Regions from separate parts of the Homo sapiens genome. Here all the other regions are linked to region 4. The links are contacts of gene promoters, found by promoter capture Hi-C in blood cells and fetal thymus (Javierre and others, 2016). All regions are on one chromosome and are shown on one strand. Each heading gives the region's core, a stretch centred on a gene start or on the middle of the fragment in contact. The rest is flanking DNA. Distances are from core to core; before and after follow the strand shown. Region 1 has its middle 8.9 kb from the start of UPF3B. Region 2 overlaps SLC25A43 (solute carrier family 25 member 43). Region 3 has its middle 8.8 kb from the start of SLC25A5-AS1. Region 4 holds the start of WDR44 (WD repeat domain 44).

Region 1 (6,150 bases), core at 3,399-5,898, 1.5 Mb before region 4:
TCTCAGGATCTCAGGATCTCAGGATCACACCCTCAGGTAATCACTTAATCACTATATTGATTTTTTTTTTTTTTGAGATGCAGTCTCACTCTGTCACCTAGGCAGGAGTGCAGTGGCGCGATCTCAGCTCACTGCACCCTCCGCCTCCTGGGTTCAAGTGATCCTCCCACCTCAGCCTCTTAAGTAGCTGGAACTACAGGTGTGGGCCATGATACCCGGCTTTTTTTTTTTTTTTTTTTTTTTTTTTTTTTTTTTTTGGTAGAGACAGTGGTCTCCCTATGTTGCCTAGGCTGCTCTGGAACTCCTGGGCTCAAGCAGTCCTCATCCCTCAGCCTCCCAAAGCGCTGGGATTACAGATGTGAGCTACCACGCCTGGCTGTTGAACCTTTCTGTAAACACTTTTTTATTTGCTGAGGTGAAATTTACATAACATAAAATTAACCAGTTTAAAGCAAACAATTTAGTGGTATTTAATACATTTGCAATGTTGTGCAACTACCACCTCTATATAGTTCCAAAACATTGTTTTCATCACCCCAGAAGAAAACCCCACACCCATTAAGCAAATGCTCCTCATTTCCTCCTCCCCTCCACCAACCCCCCCCCCAATCCCTGGCAACCACCAATCTGCATTCTCTGTGGATTTAATTATGTTATATATTTCTTTTCTTTTTTTTTTTTTTTTTTTCCCGAGACGGAGTCTTGCTCTGTCACCCAGGCTGGAGTGCGGTGGAGTGATCTCAGCTCACTGCAACCTCCACCTCCCAGGTTCAAGCAATTCTCCTGCCTCAGCCTCCCAAGTATCTGGGATTACAGGTGCGCGCCACCACGCCCTGCTAATTTTTGTATTTTTAGTAGAGATGGGGTTTCACCATGTTGACCAGGCTAGTCTCAAACTCCTGACCTCGTGATCTGCCCGTCTCGGCCTCTCAAAGTGCTGGGATTACAGGCGTAAGCCACCTCGCCCAGCCTATGTTAGATATTTCATATAAATGGAATTGCAATATGGAATCTTTCATGTCTGGCTTCTTTCATTTAGTTTTCAAGGTTCATCCACATTGTAGTATGTATCAGTACTTCCTTTCTATGGCTAAACAGTATTCCATTGTATGCATAGAACACAATTTGCTTATTAACCAATCATCTGTTGATGGATATTTGTTCATTTACCTTTTAGCTCTGACTATGGGTGTACATGTATTTGTTTGAGTGTCTGTTTTCAATTCCTTTGGGTATATACTTAGGAGTGTAGTTGCTGGGTCATATGGTTAAGTTTATGTTTAACTTTTTATATATGTATATATAGAGAGAGAGAAAGAGACAGGGTCTCACTCTGTCACTCAGGCTAGAGTGCAGTGGCCAGATTATAGTTCACTGAAGCCTCACACTCTTGGGCTCAAGTGATCCTCCTACCTCAGCCTCCTGAGGAGCTAGAACTACAGGTGCACAACGCCATGCCTGGCTAATTTTTTTTTTCTTTTTTTTTTTGTTGAGACGGAGTCTGGCTCTGTCGCCCAGGCTGGAGTACAGTGGTACGATCTCGGCTCACTGCAACCTCTGCCTCCCAGATTCAAGTGATTCTCCTGCCTCAGCCTCCCAAGTAGCCGGGATTACAGGCACCTGCCACCATGCCCGGCTAATTTTTGTATTTTTAGTAGAGACGGGGTTTCACGTTCTTGGCTAGTCTGGTCTCGAACTCCTGGCCTCATGTGATCCGCCCACCTCAGCCTCCCAAAGTGCTGGGATTACAGGCATGAGCCACTGCACCCAGCTAAATCTTTTACTTCTTTTGACAATGTTTTATAGTATTTAGAGAATAAGTATTGCACTTCCTTTGTTAAATTTATTCCTAATATTTTGTTCTTGATGCTATTGCAAATAGAATAATTTTCTTAATTTCATTTTTAGATTATTCATCAACAGCATATAGAAATAAAATTTATTGTTTTCCAATATTGATCTTATATACTGGAACCATGCTGAACTCATTTATTGGTCCTAGCAGGTTGTTTTTTAGTGGATTCCTTAGGATTTTCTATATACATGACCACGATATTCTATGTACATGAACCAAGACTATGTCATCTGCCAATAAAGTTTTAGTTCTTCCTTTACAATCTGAATACATTTTATTTCATTGTCTTGCCCAGTTGCCATTGATGGAGCTTCCAGGACAATGTTGAATAGAGGTGGTGAGATTAGACATTCTTCTCTTGTTCCTGATCTTAGGAGGAAAACATCCAGTCTATCACCACTAAGTATGTTATTAGCTGCGAGTTTTTTGTAGATGCTCTTTTCTGAGTTGAGAAAAGTTCCCCTGTATTCCTAGTTTGTTGAGTGTTGTTATCATGAAAAGGAGTTGGATTTGGGGCAAATATTTTTTCTGCATCTTTTGAGATGATTATGTGGTTTTTGCTTTTTATTCTACTGATATGGTCTATTACAGTAATTGATTTTTGGATGTTTTAAAGATAGGAAAACAAAACAAAGTGTTTTTCCTACTCTCACACTCAAGGAAACACAGAACACTCCACCTGTGGTCACCAAAATGTGTGGGGAAATACACACATACACCAACCAAGCAATTCTCCAGCTGACATCAGCTGGATCTCCTCTAAATCAATTCAATTCCAACATTGCCTACCTGGAGATAGCATCAGATCCCATAGATCCTATACAGAGATTTGGGGCTCAGTCCTATGAGACTGCCCCCCACCTCAAATGCCAATAGTAAGTAGTAGGTTGTCATCTATACTTCTGACCCACCAGCTATAAATCAGGGGTTTCTACTACCCTCTCCTCAGGTTCCATTAATTTGCTAGAGTAGCTCACAGAATTCAGGGAAACACTTTACTTAAATTTACTCATTTATTATAAAGGATATTACGAAGCATATAGACAAATAGTCAGATAGAAAAGCTGTGTAGGGCAAGGCATGTGAGAAGGGGCCCAGAGCTTCCATGCTCTCTCTCTCAGAACCACCCTCAAGGTAACTCATGTCCAGCTAGCCAGAAGCTCTCAGAACTCAGTCCTTTGGGACTTCTATGGAGGCTCCATTACATAGGCATGATTGATTACATCACTGGCCATTGGTGATCAACTCAACCTTCAGCCCTTCTCCCCTCCCCAGAGGTCTAGGTTTGTGGGGTGATGTGGGGTTGAAAGTTCCAACCCTCTAATTACATGATTGGTTCCCCTGGCAACCAGCCCCCATCCTGAGGCTATCCAGGATCCCACCAAGAGTCACCTCATTAAAACAAAAGATGCTACTATGATCCAGGAAATTCTGAGGGATTTAAGAGCTCTATATATCAGAGCTTTCTTTAATCTAATTCGTTTCTTTTGTTTTTTTTTTTTTTTTTTTTTTTTTTTTTTTTGAGACGAAGTCTCACTCTGTCACCCAGGCTGAAGTGCAATGGCAAGATCTCGGCTCACTGCAACCTATGCCTCCCGGGTTCAAGCAATTCTTCTGTCTCAGCCTCCCAAGTAGCTGGGATTACAGGCGTGTACCACCACGCCTGGCTATTTTTTTTTTTAGACAGAGTCTTGCTCTGTTGCCTAGGCTGGAGTGCAGTGGTGCGATCTCAGCTTACTGCAACCTCCACCTCCCAGGTTCAAGTGATTCTCCTGCCTCAACCTCCCGAGTAGCTGGGACTACAGGCGTGCGCCACCATGCCCAGCTAATTTTTTGTGTATTTTTAGTAGAGACCGGGTTTCACCGTATTAGCCAGGATGGTCTCAATCTCCTGACCTTGTGATCCGCCCACCTCGGCCTCCCAAAGTGCTGGGATTACAGGTGTGAGCCACCGTGCCCAGCCTTTTTTTTTTTTTTTTTTGAGATGGAGTCTCAAATCTGTTGCCCAGGCTGGAGTGCAATGGCATGGTCTTGGTTCACTGCAACCTCCGCCTCCTAGGTTTAAGCAATTCTCCTGCCTCAGCCTCCCAAGTAGCTGGGATTACAGGTGCGTGCCACCACACCTGGCTAATTTTTGTATTTTTAGTAGAGATGGTGTTTCACTCTGTTGGCCAGGCTGGTCCTGAACTCCTAACCTGGTGATCCACCTGCCTCGGCCTCCCAAAGTGCTGGGATTACAGGCGTGAGCCACCACGCCCGGCCTCCTTACTTTCATATCCATATAATGTGTTACTGCATTTAACATTTGACATAAATAATCTCTTCATATTTTTGTAATGTAACAAACATTTTATTAATTTTATTAACATTACTTTTACATCTGAGAATTTACCAGTATTTTTAAGATAACTCTATAATTTTTTCTAGTTTTTTTTAATAGCCCCTACACAAACTCACAGGATTTAGGGTTTTCGTTTTGTTTTGTTTTGTTTTTTTAACTACCAGCCTTGGAGATGTAATTTAGATTTATGAATCAGCTGTATTACTTTCTAGCCATGTAATTTTGGGTTTGAGTGACCACGTGTCTTAATTTCACTCATTGCAAAATAGGGAAAACAACAGTACCCAATTCATAGGGCTGGTGTGAGGACTAACCAAGTCAACGCACACAAAGTGCCCAGCACAGGGCAAAAATAAGCTTTGATCATGATTGTTTTGTTGTTGTGAAAGTCCATAAGTCTCCTTTTGTCCAAATTTCATCTCACTCTCAGTACACAGGATCTTTCTAAGTCTACATTATAGAAATAGAACTGATAATTTTCTACGCTTATACCTGTAAAATTATTCCCCTGAGAAAATTACACAACTTCAGGATTTTTAAAGCTTACTGGATTTACTTACAAGTTTACATGAGTGCGGCTGGGTGCGGTGGCTCATGGCTGTAATCCCAGCACTTTGGGAGGCCGAAGCGGGAGAATCACTTGAGCTTAGGAGTTTGAGAACAGCCTGGCCAACATGGTGAAATCCCGTCTCTACTAAAAATACAAAAATTAGTCCCATGCCTGGCGCCTGTAATCCCAGCTACTTGGGAGGCTGAGGCAGGAGAATAGCTTGAACCTGGGAGGTGGAGGCTGCAGTGAGCCGAGATTATGCCACTGCACTCCAGCTTGGGCAACAGAGCGAGACTCCATCTCAAAAATAAATAAATAAATAAATAAAGTTTACATGTGTGGTACAGTTTGAGCATCCAAAATCTGAAATGCCCCAAAATCTGAAACTTTTTGAGCACTGACATGATATCACAAGTGGAAAATTCCACACCTGACCTCGTGGGACAGGCCACAGACAAAACACAGGCACACGACACACAGTTTATTCAGTGTCTCCAAGGAAAAAATTAAAATTACCTTCAGGCTCTGTGTACAAGGGGCATATGAAACATAAATGAATTTCATGTTGAGACTCGGGTCCTATCCCCAAGTTATCTCATTACATATATGCAAATATTCCAAAATTCGAAACACTTCTGAAATCCAAAACACTTCTGGCCTGAAGCATTTCAGATAAGGCATACTCAACTTGTATTCTCCCTCAGAATCTAATGTCACTCCTCCAAGGCTCAGCTACCAATTTTAAACTAAAAACTTTTCTTAATTGAGAAATTCATCTCTGTTTCCCATGTGACTGAATTCCTTATATTGTTCATTAGCTCCTCCTGTTTTTTTTGAGACAGAGTCTCACTCTGTTGCCCAGGCTGGAGTGCAGTAGTGCAATCTTGCTCACCACAACCTCCGCCTCCCAGGTTCAAGTGATTCTCCTGCCTCAGCCTCCCAAGTAGCTGGGATAACAGGTGCTCGCCACCACTTCCAGCTAATTTTTGTATTTTTAGTAGAGATGGGGTTTCACCATGTTGGCCAGGCTGGTCTCGAACTCCTGACCTCAAGTGATCTGCCCACCTCGGCCTCCTAAAGTGCTGGGATTATCAAGCCACTGCGCCCGGCCACCTCCTCCTGTTTTATGTCATCAGTAGACATCAGGAATAGCTGGTTAACATCTTTCGTTATAATCCTTAAACTGTGGGAAGGTACTTCAAATAATTATACTATGTAAGCCTCCTTTATGCACTGACTGGGAAGGAGTCCAACGTTCTCATACATATTTTTAACTTGGCTAATTCATAAAATATTACCCTTTCTTTCATAGGTAATATTAGGATCAGCAGGCGCTCATGTGAAATAATTTTTTGTACTGTACAAATTATCCAACTCCTTTCCTAATTATCTGTTTAGAATTTG
Region 2 (6,151 bases), core at 3,250-5,749, 1.1 Mb before region 4:
TTTTTTTTTTTTGAGGCAGAGTCTCACTTTGTTGGCCAGGCTGGAGTGCAGTGGCACGATCTCGGCTCACTTCAACTTCCGTTCCCCAGGTTCAAGCAATTCTCATGCCTCAGCCTCACAAGTAGCCGGGACAACAGGCGCACGCCACCATGCCCAGCTAATTTTTGTAGTTTTAGTAGAGACGGAGTTTCACCATGTTGGCCAGACTGGTCTCGAACTCCTGACCTCAGGTGATCCACCCCGCTCGGCCTCCCAAAGTGCCCAGTTCTGGGCCGGGTGCGGTGGCCACTCTATCGCCCACGCAGAAGTACAGTGGCATGATCTGGGCTCACTGCAACATCCACCTCCCAGGCTCAAGAGATCCTCCCACCTCAGCCTCCTGAGTAGCTGAAACTACAGATGTGCGCCACCATGCCTGGCTATTTTTTTTTTTTTTTTTTTTTTTTTTGTAGAGATAGGGTTTCGCCATGTTGGCTAGCCTGGTCTCAAACTCCTGGGCTCAAGTGATCTGCCCGCCTCAGCCTCTCAAAGTGCCGGGATTACAGGTGTGAGCCACTGTGCCCGGCCTATCTTTTTAAAATGAGAGCATCCCCAGTTCCTTAGCCTTCAAACCTCCAGTGAGGAGGTGCATTTCCTGTTCTTTCAGTTGCCCATAGGCCAGGGGCTGCTGCATGAGAAATAAGAGTGGGCATTCAGGTGAAAGCATTTAAGGGGTTCTAGGCTAGCTCTTTTGCTTTCAAGTAAACACTCACTGATTAAAAACATCTTCAAGCTGTAGGAGTCTTGACTTCATTTTGTCAACCTACCTTAGCCGCATTAACTGAAACAGTCATTTGAGTTAATCAGCTGCTTTTAAACATACAGGGAAGTAAAGGTGATGTGGTGCTATGATACATACATTGGTTTTCACCCATGGTTCCTGGCTCCTAACTTCCCTAGTCCTTGTTATAATGTTGGGGCACTTTAGGTCTCAGGAAACAGAATCTTTCTCTCTTTGACCTTCTCCTGCCCTCCTTTTACCTGCCCAAGGTAGGACTCTAATCTGATTGTGGGTTAAAAGATCCTCATCCCAGAGAGGGTCCTGCCCCATACCCTAGAGCAAACTTGTCCAACCCACAGCCCACAGGCCGCATGTGGCCCGGGATGGCTTTGAATGTGGCCCAACACCAATTTGCAAACTTTCTTAAAACATTATGAGATTTTTTTGCAATTTTTTTTTTTTTAGCTCATCAGCTATCGTTAGTGTTATTGTATTTTATGTGTGGCCCGACAATTCTTCTTCCAGTGTGACCCAGGGAAACCAAAAGATTGGACACCTCTGCCCTAGAGAAAGGAACGCTGCATAGAGGCCAAGAAAAGTCTGAACAGACAGGCCTTGCTGGGTTTAGATCATGTGCTTTTCATCCAGTCACATTTCTACATGGTTGTCAATCATGCCTCTGTAACAAATCTTCCATAAAAACCCGAGAGGACAGGGTTTGGGAACCTTCTGGATGGCTGAACATGTGGAGGTTCCTGAAGGGTGGCGTGCCCAGGGAGGGCATGGAAGCTCCACACCCCCTGCCCCTTACCTCACCCTGCCCATCTCTTCTCTGTATCCTTTGTGGTATCCTCTGTAGTTAACTGGTAAACATTAACTATTTCCCTGAGTTCTGTGAGCCGCACTAGCAAATTAATCGAACCCAAAGAGGGGGTCGTGGGAACCCCAACTTGAAGCTGGTTGGTCAGAAGTTCTGGAGGCCTGGCTAGGCATGGCGTCTCATGCCTGTAATCCCAGCACTTTGGGAGGCCGAGGCAGGCAGATCACTTGAGGTCAGGAGTTCGAGACCAGCCTGGCCAACATGGCAAAACCTTCTCTTTAGTAAAAAAATTACAAAAATTAGCTGGGCATGGTGGCGGGCGCCTGTAATCCCAGTTACTCAGGAGGCTGAGGCAGCAGAATAGTTTGAATCCGGGAAGCAGAGGTTGCAGTGAGCCGAGATCACGCACTGCACTCCAGCCCGGGTCACAGAGCGAGACTCAGTCTTAAAAAAAAAAAAAAAAAAGTTCTGGAGGCCTGGACTTGTGACTAGTGTCTGGTTGGGGGCCATTCTTGGGGACCAAGCCCTTAACCTGTGGCTTGGTCTGACATTATGTCCAGGTAGACAGTGTCAGAACTGAATCAGAGGACACCTAGTTGGTGTCCATTTATCAGAGTGTGGGGTTCCCCACACTCATTTGGTCACAGAAGTCTTCTGTGTTGAGGGTTGTTGTTGTGGTGTGAGAGCAGAGGAAAAACCAAGTTTGACAGAGGTTTTTCTCAAACAGGTGGCATTCACCAACAGACTATCTGCCTCAGTTGTACTGCCTGCCTGCCCACTTCCTCGTTCCTCCCTCTTCTATACCCTGGCCAGTCAAGTTGGAGGGGGACCTCAGAAAGGACAGGGGAAACAGAGGAAGTAGAAATTTTTGACTGGGGCTGGGCGTGGTGGCTCACGCCTGTAATCCCAGCACTTTGGAAGGCCAAGGCAGGTGGATCACGAGGTCAGGAATTCGAGACCAGCCTGGTCAACATAGTGAAACCCCGTCTCTACTGAAAATACAAAAATTAGCCAGGCATGGTGGCGTGCACCTGTAATCCCAGCTACTCGGAAGGCTGAGGCAGGAGAATCGCTTGAACCCGGGAGGTGGAGGTTGCAGTGAGCCGAGATTGCGTCACTGCACTCCAACTTGGGCGACAGAGCAATACTTCTTCCAAAAAAAAAAAAAGAAATTTTTGACTGGAGGGGCGGTCTGCAGCAAGCTGGAACCACCTAGAAGGTGGAGTTTGAAATGCCCAAAGAAATACCATTCATTCTCCTTGTCCCACTCTTATTCCCCATCCCACTTGGTCACTTCTAGGGCATAGTTAATTCACTACTCATTTATTGAAGGTCTACAATGTATCAGACCCTGTGTTAGTCCTCAGCATAGAGCCTAAGGGAGTTCAACACTTCTGACAAGGAAATGACTGGTAGGGGCAAGCGGAGAGGAAACAGGCCCTTAATTCACTGAATGACTTGATGAACTAGGAAGAGGAGCCGTATTTTATATCAGTTTCTTTTATAGAGTCTCAATATCAAATATACACAATTAAAAAGAAGAACCATAGGAAGTCCTTTTTTCGCAGACTTCTCCCATCTGATACAGAGATAAGTCCTATCAATTGTTCCCCTTAGAATCTCAGAGTCAGGGCAGGCAACCCTGATAATCCGCCAATGATGTCATCTCAGTCCATGCATCTTAAACTTTTGATTTGCTAGGGCGGCACTGTTCCCTTTTCTGTTCTTCCTCCCACCCCCACACATACATGCACAGAAGCTTTTTCCAGTGAGACTGGATACACTGGTGAATTGCAGCAACCCCTTCCTTTCAGCCAGCACAGATACAACACACACCCTGGATATGTGTAATTATAACTGCCAATACTTCAACCTAACAGGTTGGCAGCCAGTGCAGCCAAACATAAGCTCATGAAGTGCTTATTCAATAAAGAAATAGTGTTGGTTATGAACAATTTCAGAGCTGCAGGGACCCAAACTAACGTTTATTAGATAAGATAGACAAGCGGTTGTGAAGTTCCAGGGCGGGGGGGTCTTCTATTTGATACATCTGAAAGCCACCCATTACAATAACCTAGCTCCCAACAGACTACTGAGTGGACTCTTGATCGTCAATCCAACTAAGCAGATATTTCTGCTGTGCAATGGTAGACAGAGACCTGAACTAAGGAGCCAGAAGACTTGGCTTCAAGTTCCAGCTCTTCCATTAATTGCATTTGTGGACAAGTCACTTAACTACCCCATTCCCTGAACATTCTGGATGTTTATGTTTTGTTCAAACCCATGATCACAGGCCCCCAGCCAACTGTTTTGCAAATTCATGGTCAGAAAAGAGTAGAAATGAATCAGTATAATGATGAATCAAGAGTATCATGTTGATGTAGGAAGGATGGCATCGCGATTAATCAAACACTTTGCTTTCCAACTATGCCTTGCCATTCACCAAAATACTTCCTTTTAGTTTTCAGAAAGAAAATAATCCTGTAGGGGAAAAAAAATTCCTAGCAAACCTAGCCCAGGTAAGTCTCTGTTCTCGTTCTCCCAGACATCTCCTCCTCTCTGCTCCCATGGTCACCTATTGCCGGTGCCCTCAGCTGCTATGTGGACTAGTGCAACAGGTTCCTAACTGGCCCTGCTGTCTCCACTCTTCCTCCTCTCTAGTCATCTTACTCTGCCACGATGTGACGATCATTTCCATTGAATTGCTTTAATCACAACACACCTCCCCCCACCCCCCACAAAAACCTCCCACAGCTACCCTTGGATACCAAGTCAAGTCCAAATCCCTTAATCCAACCCTCTAATATCTCATTCCAACCTGCTTTTCTGGTTGGACTTCCTGTTGTGCTGCTTGCCTTCCCACCTCTGTGCATTTGCTGACATCAACTGCAGTATCTTTCTCTCCATCTCTGCCCAGCAGACTCCTCATTCTCCCAATGCCAAACTCAAATTTTTTTCTCCTCTATGAAGTCTTCACATTTTCTCCTCCTCATCGCTCATCAGAAGGGTACATTTCTAGAGCACATTATCCATGACAATCACATGCTACCTTGTGTGTTATGGTCATGGACATATTAGTCTTACTCTTCTATTACTCTGTAAGCTCCTGGGGCACAGGGACCATGCCCCTTCCATCCTGGCATTGTCCTCAGCATCGTGCACACAGTGGGGACTTAATGTAGCCTGACTAAATTAGTGTCAAATGGATGCAGGGAGGCAGCATGATGTAACAGAAAGACTATGAGATTTGGAGTCAGAAGGCCAGGTAGTGGAGCTCAGCTCGGTCACTGACAAGAGGTGTCATCACTCTGAGCCCAATTCTGCATCTGTAAAACAGGCACAATGCTTCCTGTCCTATGGACCTTACAGGGCAGGAGGCAGGAGCTTAAAAAATCTAATGTGCATATACTAGGTGCTTAGCAGAAGAGCCACAATACTTAAACCAGCCTTTGAAGTTCTGCCCCCCACCCCTCTGGACATATTTTATCCCATCCAAAGGAAGATTTCCACACTACTTTGTAGAGAAGAGGGTGAAGTGGGGGAGAAACTGAGTCATTAAGACTCAGAGGAGAACTGTTTACAGACTGCAGGCCAGATGTTGATGAGGGCAAGCAGAGGTGGGGAGGAAAAAGGGCCTTAACTAAATGTCATGGTCCCACCCATGAGTCCCTCTGCAGAGGAAGAGAAGGGAACTCTATTTCCAGGCAGAGGCAAAATGAGTACTGGCCTAGAGGCCTAGGTAATAAGGATGATTCCGTTCGGCTTGTCGGCTGCCAGGTGAGCCTTCCACCTCTGGCCTCCCAGGTGAGTGACAGTGTCAAGGCAAAATCCTTTGACTATTAGCCGCCAAGACTAAACTATGCGGTCAAGACCGACTCTCCCAAATGTGGGCTGTTTGTCTAATTCAGAGCCAAGGCGATATCAAAGATGCCACTGTGCCCACTGAATGAGGAACACAGGGACCGTCCCCCCAATACAGAAACATCTCTGCTTCCTGAAATGCCATCACTACCAATTCATTCTTTCAGGCTTGGTTTCCAGTTCAAATGCAGGTACCTCTGAGCTCGGTGGAAGCTTTAAGGCTGCATTTACACCTTTAGATCTTTTCCTAAGGAGCAGCTGTTGATGTGGGAGAAGGTGGAAAAGGCCCAAATAAATGAGGCCAGTGGGGTGAAGCGGTAGGCTGAGGGGGCCGTTCTCAGCTTGGGGAGGGGAAGCTGCAGCCTCTGTCGGAGCCTGAAGTCAAGCTTCATTTAAGTTGGGGAGATGTGTGGGCAAAAATCTGCGGCCTTTTCGTATCGATGGATCGGGTCCTTTCCCCACACCAAGCACTTTCTTCTCGGGGCTTGGGTCACACAGACAAAAACACCTTTAAAAGGGTCTCTCTCTTCCTAAGCCAGCCTAAGCAAAAGTTTCCAAATTGGAGGACGGTGGAAATGGTTAGGACTCATCTCTCTGGAGAGCTTTTCATTCCTTTCCTCCAAATCCTTTGCTGCATTCCACCTCCTCGCCCGGTCCAATCCGGAAAGCCTCTCGGACCAGGGCTGCGGACCACAAAACTGCATCTTGCA
Region 3 (5,368 bases), core at 1,491-3,990, 1.1 Mb before region 4:
CTCCGGCCTCAGCCTCCTGAGTAGCTGGGACTACAGGCATGTGCCACCACACCCAGCTAATTTTTTGTATTTTTAGTAGTTACGGTGTTTCACCATGTTGGCCAAGCTAGTCTCAAACTCCTGACCTCAAATGACCCACCCGCCTCGGCCTCCCAAAGTGGTGGGATGACAGGTGTGAGCCACTGCACTTGGCCCATTTTCTCATTTATCTCCTCCTTCAGCAAACATTTACCACACATTCACTATGTGTTAGGTTCTATGCTCAGTTTTAGGAATGTAAAGAGAAACGAGACATAGCCCTTAATGAGGACAGACAAATAAATACTTGGTTGTGATACCATGAAATAAACATTATAATTCATTCACTTAACAACTATTTCTTGAACATCTACTATGTGCCAGGCACTGTTCTAGACACTGGGGACACATGAATGAAACAGACAAAATATCTGCCTTTGTGAAGCTGACAGAGATAGATTACTTTAGAAGTACAGAGGAGAGAGCAATGAGTATGGGCAGGTGGAGTCTGGGAAGGCTCCCAGAGGTGGTGCAATCTGAGCTGGGTCTTGAAGGATCATGCCCTGGCAGAGGGGCAGGTAAGGGCATGCTGGGAAAAACAATAGTACAGCCAAGCTTGGAAATATGAAAGTGAATGACATAGGTAGGAAATGGCAAGTGGAACTGCAGATCACGTGCAGGAGGAGGAACAGAACATGAGGCGCACAGTACTGTCTCTCAATATAAGGTGCAATCAGATAAAATAGCCCAAAGCCCAACTCATTGCATTTTTCTTTTTCTTTTGTTCTTTTTTTTTCTCGAGACGGAGTCTCGCTCTGTCGCCCAGGCTGGAGTGCAGTGGCGCAATCTTAGCTCGCTGCAAGCTCCGCCTCCTGGGTTCACGCCATTCTCCTGCCTCAGCCTCCCAAGTAACTGGGACTACAGGCACCTGCCACCATGCCCGGCTAATTTTTTGTATTTTTAGTAGAGATGGGGTTTCACCACGTTAGCCAGGATGGTCTCGATCTCCTGACCTCGTGATCTGCCTGCCTCGGCCTCCCAAAGTTTTTTTGAGACTGAGTTTCACTCTGTCACCCAGGCTGAAGTGCAATGGTGCGATCTCAGCTCACTGCAGCCTCCGCCTCCCGGGTTCAAGCGATTCTCCTGCCTCAGCCTCCTGAGTAGCTGGGATTACGGGTGCCCGCTACCACACTCAGCTAATTTTTGTATTTTTAGCAAAGACGGGGTTTCACCACGTTGGCCAGGCTGGTCTCGAACTCCTGACCTCAGGTGATCTGCCCGCCTAGGCTTCCCAAAGTGCTGGGATTACAGGCGTGAGCCACTGTGCCCAGCCTCACTGCATTTTTCTGAGAGCCAACCCTGGTTAGAGGTAAGGGTGCGGCCAACACCAACTCCTCCTGTGGTTGTTAGTTGGTATGGGCCTTACGCAAAGTCCTAATGACCCCAGCCTCAGGCTTGTAACCTTAGAGAGAGGCTCAGTATTCCTTGTGAAGAGCCGTCATTTAAAAGGAAGATCTGTCTTGGAAAAGCCAAAGAAATGTGAATAAATTCAAATTTAACTCTAGAGCTTTAGGGTCAAGTAGTTTTTAATGACCATAATTCTTAAATTGGCTGAAAATAGAAAATAACCCATACTCTAAAAATGGACTTTACAAACAGTGCTTTGGTTATTATAATTTATTTTTTCTTTTGTTATCTCTTTTTTTATCCAACTGAGGTTATTATAATTTCTATTTAATATTTGTCAAATGGATTTTGTCAGTTGGTATTGAAACTAGCCGGCTTTCATATTTTAATATAGTTCATGACCCAAAATAAATAGTTGGACAGGGTCACCTTGAAGTTCTCTTTGAAACCTTTTGCCGAGTCAGATAGCTCAGAGGACATTATCTCATCTCTCTAAGCTTCGGTTTCATAGCTGTGAAATGGAGTGAATAATAATACCTGCCTCTTAGGGCTGTTGAGACAATAGGGACAGTTAATCCATGTAAAGTGCTTAGCACAACATCTGGCATATAAGATGTCAAAATAATGAGCTATGATCTTGATTCTGTAGTTTTAGAGAAATTACTGTTACCTGGTTGTATCGATTGTTTAACCTGAAGACGCAGGCTTAACTTAATTCAATCTATCTAGCCCTAGAAACTCCAAAAAGAACCACAGCCCACAGTAGATTTGAGGAATTATATTGTAGCTTAAAAAGGAAAGTTGATTTCCAGGTTTCCTGGTAGACAAACTGAGCCACTAACTAGTGACGGGATGTGATATGACCCAAGACAAAGAAACATGGAGCCGAAGTGGGATTACAATTTCAGTGGTCAAACTCCTAGCTTTCTACCCTAATTGGCAAACAGCACGCTTTTACCCAGAAGCCCAAGCGTCCTTACCCCCTGATCTTCACTTCTGGGATAAAGCCATTATGAAGCTCAATTTTTGTAATAAATGGACTCCTGAACCCTGGACTTAGTTGTGAAAGTGAAAGGAGATCCTTTGCTTCTAAAGGTCTCAGTAAATTTTCTCCTCCCTGCAGCTTCTTTCCCTAGGGAGTGAAGTCATAGGGTTGGGTAATCAGGCTGGGACCTCATGGGTTCCTTGAAATACTACGAGAGCAAAGGAAGCTGTGAGAAGAATCCTGGTGACCACACAGTGGCCCCTGGGTCAGGTGAGCAGTGCAGTCTGGTTGTGAGGCAGGACGGATTTATCTTTGACCTTTGGTCTCTTTCATAATCAGTGTTGTAAAATAAGTGCTCTGAGTTAGAGCTCAGGATTATCACCATAAGCACATGTTTCTATTCATTCAGTCCATTCCAAAAATGTCCTTTTCTTTCTTTACAACCTTCTCTCTCTCTCTCTGTGTGTGTGTGTGTGATCCACTTTCTATAGTATATATAGCATTTTCTTGAGACTGTTTTAGAAAATCTGCAGGAAAAGGATAAATCCATTAAACCATTCTCCCATGAATGAAGTGAAAATAATTTAAAGCATTTCAATAAAACAATAACAGTCGGGCCAGATGCAGTGGCTCCTGCCTGTAATCCCAGCACTTTGGGAGGCTGAGGCGGTTGGATCACTTGAGGCCAGGAGTTCGAGACCAACCTGGCCAACATGGTGAAACCCCATCTCTACTAAAAATACAAAAATTAGCCAGGTGTGGTGGCTTGCACCTCTTGTCCCAGCTACTCGGGAGACTAAGGCAGGAGAATCGCTTGAACCTGGGGGGTGGAGGTTGCAGTGAGCCAAGTTCGCACCACTGAACTCCAGCCTGGGTGACAGAGCAAGACTCTATCTCAAAAACAAAAACAAAGCAATAACAGTCATAATAAGAGCAAAATTGTGTAAAGCAGGTGCCCAGCATTGTTCTAAGCACTTTACATATATTAACTCCTTTAATCTTCACACTATTCCTATGAGGTAGGTACTAAAGTTATCCCCATATTCCACATGGGGAAACTAAGGCACAAAACAGTTAAGTAAAAGTTGAATTGTTGTCAAGTAAGAAAGTTTGGTATTTGAAAATGAGACCTCTAGCCTCAAAGCTTCTCATGAGTGAGTCCTGAGCGGTGTGCTCCGAGGAAGGTCAGGTGGTGAGGAAGCCCCAGACCTCTCCCTGATGTACAGGGCTGCCTCCAAATTCCTTCATCCACTCCAGTTCCACGGGCAGGAATGGATCTGAGTTTTGTGGAAGTGTCAGCTTATATGATTTGGCTCCCTCTTTTTAAAAACACAAAATATGTCTTTTGAAAATGTTGCCAAACCATATGACCAAATGAATATATGGTTAGGGCTTGGGAGGGGCCCATGCAAGGGGTGGCTCCAAAGGGGAAGCACCCCTAGCTCCACAGTACATCTGCCTTTGCCTCTGCCCATAAGATATCTCTGCTTCTTGCCAAACTGGGTATTGGAGTTCATTTAGACAGAAGAGTTTTCCTTTTCATTCCCAAACACGAGGCCCTCGGAAGTTACCAGTCAACAGCTATTTAACTGATACTTTATTCTGGTTATGTCCTTGCAACCATAACCATCTCTATTCTGGGACTGAAAACATTAGAGACAGTGTAACATGTCATGTGATCAGATTCGGCATGTTCTCTAAAATCTCAACAGTGCTAAATTGCCTCCCCATGTTACGAAAGTTGCCCAAGGAAATGAAATCCCAGGATGGATGCTCGCCATAAAAATAACCCCCTCGTTTCTCTGTCCCCTTCCCTGATAGTCACGGAAAAGCCAAGGATTAATAGACTCCTTTAATTTAACTCAGTTTTGTCTCTGATGAGGGTCTAGTGAAAGCAACTGCCCAATCTGTCGCTTGAATACTGTTTATATTTGTTGCCGGGATACCAAAGGCTCTCTTAAGCCTTTGGCTAAGAAGAGCACCATGCATCTGACCTTGTTCACCTGCACATAAAGCAAATAATGGCTGAAATGATAGGAAAGCTCCTCCAAACATTTGGAGTGGAACACAAGGCATTTTTGTGTCCGAAATTGCAGCGCCTAATATTTGTTGTTCAAATAAATCTCAACCTGCATACGGAAGTGCACATTACACATAATAAGATGAGGCTTTGAGAAGACAGATGTTAATTATTTTGAGGTAAATCAGAGCACCTCTGACCCAAACACCGAGCTGTAATTTGTTGCTCAGCTTCTTGGTCCTGAAATTAATGTAAATCTTTACATTCGTAATTTTACTTGCCAATGGCAAACCACCCACACAGTCTGTAAATGACTGCTCTGAGTCAGAGACTATTCATTTACGATTGTGTTAGATATTTTAAAATGTTCTCTGAAAGGATTAAATCACCTAATCCTGGTCCTTTCACTGGTTCTGCTTTCTGCAAAAATGATGGAGCTGGAGGACGTCTAAACTAGAAGGGACTTTAGAGTTTGTCTCTTCCCCAAATTTCTCCATTCAAGGATAAGAAACTAAGACCCTGATGTTAGAAGTGACTTGTCTCCAGGTCACTCAGCAACCAAAACTAACCCCCCAACCCCCGCAAAAAAAAAAAAAAAAAAAAAAAAAAAAAAAAATCCCAGGTTAGGATTTTAATAAATGGCCACACTTAGAAATCCTTGCTCAGAGTCCGGAAGCTACCCTTTCCCTGCCCTCCTGCCTCCGACAGCTTCTGTTAGTCCTGGTACTCCACAGTATGACTCGGTTCTAAAAGAATCATGCCATTTTGAATCCAGGTGGTCAGAATACGATTCCGATAAAACAAATCAGCAGCCGTTACAGCAATATGCATTAATTTTGGGGGAATGGATAGCCAAGAAATTGCTAATAACGGTGACTTTTGAGGAGGGGGCTAGTGATGAGAAACGCAGGACAGGAAGATGTTTACTTTTCGTTTTA
Region 4 (5,711 bases), core at 1,725-4,224:
AAATTTGCTTTCAAAGAGTAGATTAACAAAGCCGAAGACATCATTGGAAGGAAAATGCAAGAAATAAATTAATTTTAGGAAATAGCTTGTGTATTAGGATTGTGCTAATTAACAAAACATGAGATAAGTCTCCACTGCCTATTCAGTTTACTACAATTTGTTGACATAGTCTGTGTACTCCCAAACACACAACAGCAAGGAACATTTCTGAAGTGCCCAAATTCAGTCTATTAACCTTAGAAATTGTATAGTTTGCCACTCCAGATCATATGAAGGAACAGAACATATTTCTGATGACCAATATCTAGTAAGGCAATCTGTTTCCACAAATCAAGATTTCTCACTACATTTCTAGGTTATAAGTTGCCCACCCAGATCTCCTCACGGTGTCTTATGCAAATGATACAACCTTCCACAAAGGATAGAGGAAAATGTAAATGATGCTAACCTTTTTCTGCCCTCAGTGCTGCCAGTTCTTTTCAGATGCAATTCTCCAGATTAGTCTATTGTCTTTCCAATCCTCTAATACAGAAAGGAGCCCTGAAATCCACAAACTGACCCTGTAGTTTTATCCATAGAACTCAACACACTTAGTAATTGGGCAGGTTAAAGTTAAAATTAGAAAGCTGAGTTCCAAAAAAACCTTTTTCAGTTTTCACCTAATATCAGAGGATCAAAGTGCTTGAGAAGCTGTATTATCTCATGAGGGAAGAAGTGACTCTATCAATTCTATCAAAATGACTCATCCGGTTTAGATAAGTAAAATAGGTCCAAGTTCTATATATCTCCCAAAATAAGCTTTGTGTAAAGTTAACAAATTTGCCAATGCCAAGAAAGGAAGGAGAAAAGCATGAACATTTTGAATGCTTTCTCTGTGCCCAGGTACTGGACTAGACAGTTTACACAGGTCCTGATATAACTTGCGTCCTTTGAAATTAAACTTATTCAGTGGAAAGAACAATATCCACAGAGTAGTTCTAAACTGATCAGCTCATAAACTGATGATTTCCCTCCCCCACCCCAATACACACACACAAAAGTACCAAAGGACTTGGTGTCTCATTCAATCTGAATTGTCAGTTCATTACTTTGAAGGGAAAACCACACACACAAAAATTAAGTTTCACGGAAGTCCAATACATTTCAAAACCCAAATGTATTTCCTATGCTCTACACCTAGCTCTAAACTTGTCTCAGATATTGAACTTGAAGGAGATTCGGTGTCATCTCAAGATTGGCCACTGCCACCCCAAAATCCCACAACAGTGACATGAAGGTTGGTGGAAAGACAAACATCTGAAATCTACCAACGTACATTGCTTTCTGATTTTATTACTGTAACTTTTTGGTGCATATTGTGTATAAACATACATTAGTTTTTAGAATGACTTCTAGCATGCATGGCTAACTATACTTGCATCACAGCGGGTTATTACTCCCACGGAGTAAGTGTGAGAATTGAAGGCAGTGAACTTCTCGAACCATATTAGTCCTTTATACTAACATCTACATTTTACCAATCCTCAAGTTCTTACAGCATGAAAATATATTTCACTGCCTCTATTTCCACGTACATTCGTAGGGGAGTTCGGCGAAATCGCTTTAAAGCACTACCCCAACTTTGAAAAGTGGAGAAGTGGGTAAGTAAATACAAGTCCTAGTCAAGCGAGCATTCCAACTACTGTACTTCCTATTCAGAATCACCCATATTAATCACCACTAAAACATCTTGCAGAATTAGATAAAGAACACAAAGCTGGGGCTCTCCTTCCAATCACCAGATTACTCAGCACTTGTTTGTCCCTCTGCAGTCAGTTGTGCACATTTCTTCTGTCTGGCCATCCTTTTAGACCGCATTCTGCCTAATAGGGACCGTGTATTCGATTTCCTTTACCTCACGATAAGGTGTTATTTTAATAAAACACTGTTGATCTAGAGTACATTCGCTAGAGGACTTTCTTAAGCAAATACCCAACCTTCCCCCCGCTCCTTTTCGCTGTGTGCAAGAAAAAGAGGACGGCAAATAGGGGAGAGTTACAGCCACCTCTGAAGTGAATAGGTAAGTTAGCGGTAAACGGGAGAATAAAAAACTACAAGTTACATTTCTCCTGTTACTGCTCCTTTAATCTACGGTCCCCGAGGCCAAAACGGATGTTTGAAAGGTAAGCTCAGAACCCCACAGATACAAATCTCCGACTCAGGCACGTAAGCTGTTCCCCCTCACAGAAGGCTGGATCAGAAGAGAAACGGGCTCCGAGACCGACCCTGGGACCGTTCAGTAGGGAAACGGCCGGGAGGCTGCCCGAGGTGGCTGACTCCCCCTTCTCCGAGTCACCCCGCCCTAAGAAGCCCCAGGTCTGGGTTCTGAAGTCCTCCAGTGAGACGGGGAGGAACAGCGGTGGCGGACACAGCGGGACCTGGGAGGGGTGTAGGGGGAAGACACAGGAGATGCGGGGGGCTTGGGATGCCCGGCTTCCTGTCATAGCTGCAGTCACTTACCCCACGGGGTAGCCGCCCCCTAGGTGCACATCTTCAGGGGCATCATAGAATTCCTCGGTGTCGCTTTCCGACGCCATTTATAGGACACACCCGCGGGTGAGGGGGCCGGCGCCGCCTGGAGGAAGGGTGACTCTTGTCTCCTCCTCGTCGACCTCCACCCGGGCGAGACTGGGGAAGTGGGTCTCGGGCGAGGCTGAGGGAGCAGACGATCTGTAGCGAGGAGACTGTTAAGGAAAGGGGGCCGCCCTCAGTTGCCGGGCTTCGGGAATGACCGGCAAAGCGGCCGCCTGAAGAGGCGGCGGTTGGTCCAGGGAATGTTGCTGCCACCGCTCCCAGTGATAGGTGTATAAGGAGCGCGAAAGAGGCGGTGGCTCCTCGCAGTAAGGGAAGAAGGGCGCGCCGGCTACAGCGGCTCCAGTTTCTCCCGCAGCAGCAATTTACAGCAGCTGGAAGAGCTAGTTGCCCGCAAAATACCGACGCGCACCTACCCTCGCGAGATTTCGGAGGGGCGGTAATACGTGGGCGGGGCGAAGAGGTGGCGGGGGCGGTTCCAGAGAGGCAGCGCTCCGATTACTTCGGCCCGAGAAGCCTATCAAAACGGCGCAAGCGCGTTGAGGGCGTTCGGTGAGGGCCGGAAGTAGCCGAGAAGGGAGGGGGTGAGCCTCCCGAAGGGAGGAGTCTAGGACCTGCGCAGGAGCAGCGTGGTGCCCTGGCTCTGAGAGCGCGCGGCCGACGTAGGTGGGGTCAGGCAGAAAGTCTTACTCCCTAACTCTGCAGTTCCAAAGAGACGCGTTTTGAGAGGGGTGATTTTGAGTCGGTCTTTTACTTGTAAAGAAATACTCTCGGGAAACGTTGGTGTGGACATTTTGGCGTATATTTACGATGTCTTACTATCCAAGCCCGGAATGTCCCACCCTAGGGCGTCGGCAGGTCCACCACCTCTGGCGTTACGAGAATAACTCGCCCTTATTCACTACGAGATCTCTAATTGAGATCCCTAGATATGATCCTGCCGGCCAGAGGGTGGGGTCCTTGAGATATACACGGGGAGTGTGCCAGTTCCATGGTGTAATGATGGATTTATTGCTGGAGCTGAGCCAGTATTAGGCCTCCGGTTACTTTTTCTCCGCACATGTCTGTCGCTGCCAACACAGTGTGAGAGAAGTTCTTACATACTGCCCAAGATGTGCGTCAGCTAAATGGTAAATATTTATTGAGCAGATATCATTGCAAGCCTACGAGCTAATGGCTTAATTCTGATCCTCAACTGCCCAGCGTCCGGTGATAAAAATAGAAAGGTACTTTTTAAAAAACCGAGATGTTCCTTCTTAAACCACGGGTCATTGACCATCAAGGTGATAACATTGACTTTCAGTATGATCACACAGCATATTTATTTCTCCAACTGACATCATGATAGGCATTTTGAGCTGTTCGTGCAGCCTCAATTAGTATTCAAGAAAAGGCTGGATTGGAGCCAGGGGTATGGTCTCAGAGAAACTGGAAAGGGGCTCTAGACTTTGTCAAGCAATCAGGGCAAGGTCTGCTGTGGTCTAGTGGACTTGGGTAAAAACCAAATGTCATATACTGTATATTCTATAATACCCCAGGGAGTTTAGGGAAAACACTGCGTAATCAAATATATTAATATTTTTGCAGCAAGATATATGATTGTTCATACGGGATAAATAAATACAAGTAAATAGCCTCATTCAGTTTGAGTCAGACGCTTCTGCCAAATAAGTTTAAGATAGATCTATTTGACTGTCAAATAAATTACTAAAAAAAAAAAAAAACAGAAACTTGGTTTCCAGAGCTTTTGAAGTTTCAGAATTGGAGACAAGGGATTTGTGGATCCTTGTGAGGGTATGACTTTTGTCAAACCTAAAAATTATTAGGTTTTATGTGTCTTAAACATGTTAATTAACTTCCTAGGTATAAAAATGTAACTCAAAGTACTAACTTTTAAAAACGTTTTGCTCACTAAGATAGGTTTTTTTGTTTTCTTTTTGGATTATGGAAAGATACCAGATATAAGGTAGGGAAATATATATTTATGGAAAGATGTTAACTACCTGAATGTATTCTCTTCCTAGATATCTAATAGTGAATTTATGGCTTCCAAAGAAAAAAAAGTTAGTTTTCTCTATATGATAGAGGTGTTAGTTCCAGGCGCGGTGGCTCACGCCCGTAATCCCTGCACTTTGGGAGGCCGAGGCAGGCGGATTTCTTGAGCTCAAGAGTTTCAGACCAGCCTGGGCAACATGGTGAAACCCTGTCTCTACAAAAAATTCAAAATTTAACTGGGTGTGGTGGCATGTGCCTATGGTCTCAACTACTGTGGAGGCTGAGGTGGGAGAATCGCTTGAGCCCAGGAGGTTGAGGCTACAGTGAGCTGAGATAGCACCACTACACTCCAGACTGGGCAGCAGAGCCACACCCTGTCTCTCACACACACACACAAAAAACAACAGCAACAACAAAAACAAAATGCCGTGTGTGGAAACCAGTCGCTCAGTTCAGTAAACATATACAATTTGGTGTCATGAAGCGTTCTAGATGCTGAGGACAATTGACAGATTAAAAAGACAACTAGATCCGGCGCGGTGGCTCACACCTGTAATCCTAACACTTTGGAAGGCCGAGGTGCGCAGATCACTTGAGGTCAGGAGTTCGAGACCAGTCTGGCCAACATGGCAAAATCCTGTCTCTACTAAAAATACAAAAGTTAGGGGGGCGTGGTGGCACTTGCCTGTTGTCCCAGCTACTCGGGAGGCTGAGGTAGGAGAATTGCTTGAACCTGGGAGGCGGAGGTTGCAGTGAGCTGAGATCCCGCCGCTGCATTCCAGCCTGGGCGACAGAGGGAGACTCTGTCTCAAAAACAACAACAACAACAACAACAAAAACAAAACAGAAAAAGACAACTTAAGTTTCTGCCTACAAAAAGCTAATAATCTAGCAGTGGAGACAAATACGGAGTCCTAGTTTGGTGCTCTGTTTTTTTTCAATATACCATATCAGCTCTCTTGGACCTTTTAAGCTGCCTTAAACATTATACTTAGAAAAAGGTAAAATGGATAGGAATGATAAACTGGTAACATTTTTAGAGCTTTTAAAGTTTCCGTTTAAATGCTTTTATCAATTGCATGAGAAAGCCAATTGCTAGAATGAATTGCTGGAAACGTTAAAACACATATAAATACTGCCCATCG

Evidence for each region. The method cuts DNA at HindIII sites, captures the fragments that hold promoters and counts their contacts. A CHiCAGO score of 5 or more calls a contact.
Region 1: a contact is called between a fragment that was not itself captured here and the fragment with the promoter of WDR44 in region 4, in 1 of 17 cell types (neutrophils). The highest score is 5.3, in neutrophils.
Region 2: a contact is called between a fragment that was not itself captured here and the fragment with the promoter of WDR44 in region 4, in 1 of 17 cell types (monocytes). The highest score is 5.1, in monocytes.
Region 3: a contact is called between a fragment that was not itself captured here and the fragment with the promoter of WDR44 in region 4, in 1 of 17 cell types (monocytes). The highest score is 9.3, in monocytes.

What each region holds. Positions count from the first base shown.
Region 1 is chrX:119,858,754-119,864,903 of GRCh38, reverse strand. No RefSeq gene overlaps it. Among named protein-coding and RNA genes, the nearest start is that of UPF3B, 8.9 kb to the right of the region's middle. The HindIII fragment of the contact is 185 bases long and covers 4,556-4,740 here.
Region 2 is chrX:119,399,893-119,406,043 of GRCh38, reverse strand. All of the region lies in intron 1 of SLC25A43 (solute carrier family 25 member 43), which reads right to left. Among named protein-coding and RNA genes, the nearest start is that of SLC25A43, 3.6 kb to the right of the region's middle. The HindIII fragment of the contact is 2,315 bases long and covers 3,342-5,656 here.
Region 3 is chrX:119,475,255-119,480,622 of GRCh38, reverse strand. No RefSeq gene overlaps it. Among named protein-coding and RNA genes, the nearest start is that of SLC25A5-AS1, 8.8 kb to the right of the region's middle. The HindIII fragment of the contact is 1,632 bases long and covers 1,925-3,556 here.
Region 4 is chrX:118,343,369-118,349,079 of GRCh38, reverse strand. It overlaps WDR44 (WD repeat domain 44), which reads right to left and starts at 2,974. Exons shown (of 20, transcript NM_019045.5): 1 at 2,500-2,974. The coding sequence starts at 2,576. RefSeq lists enhancers at 209-803, 2,299-2,842, 3,384-3,433, 3,624-3,743. The HindIII fragment of the contact is 5,332 bases long and covers 801-5,711 here.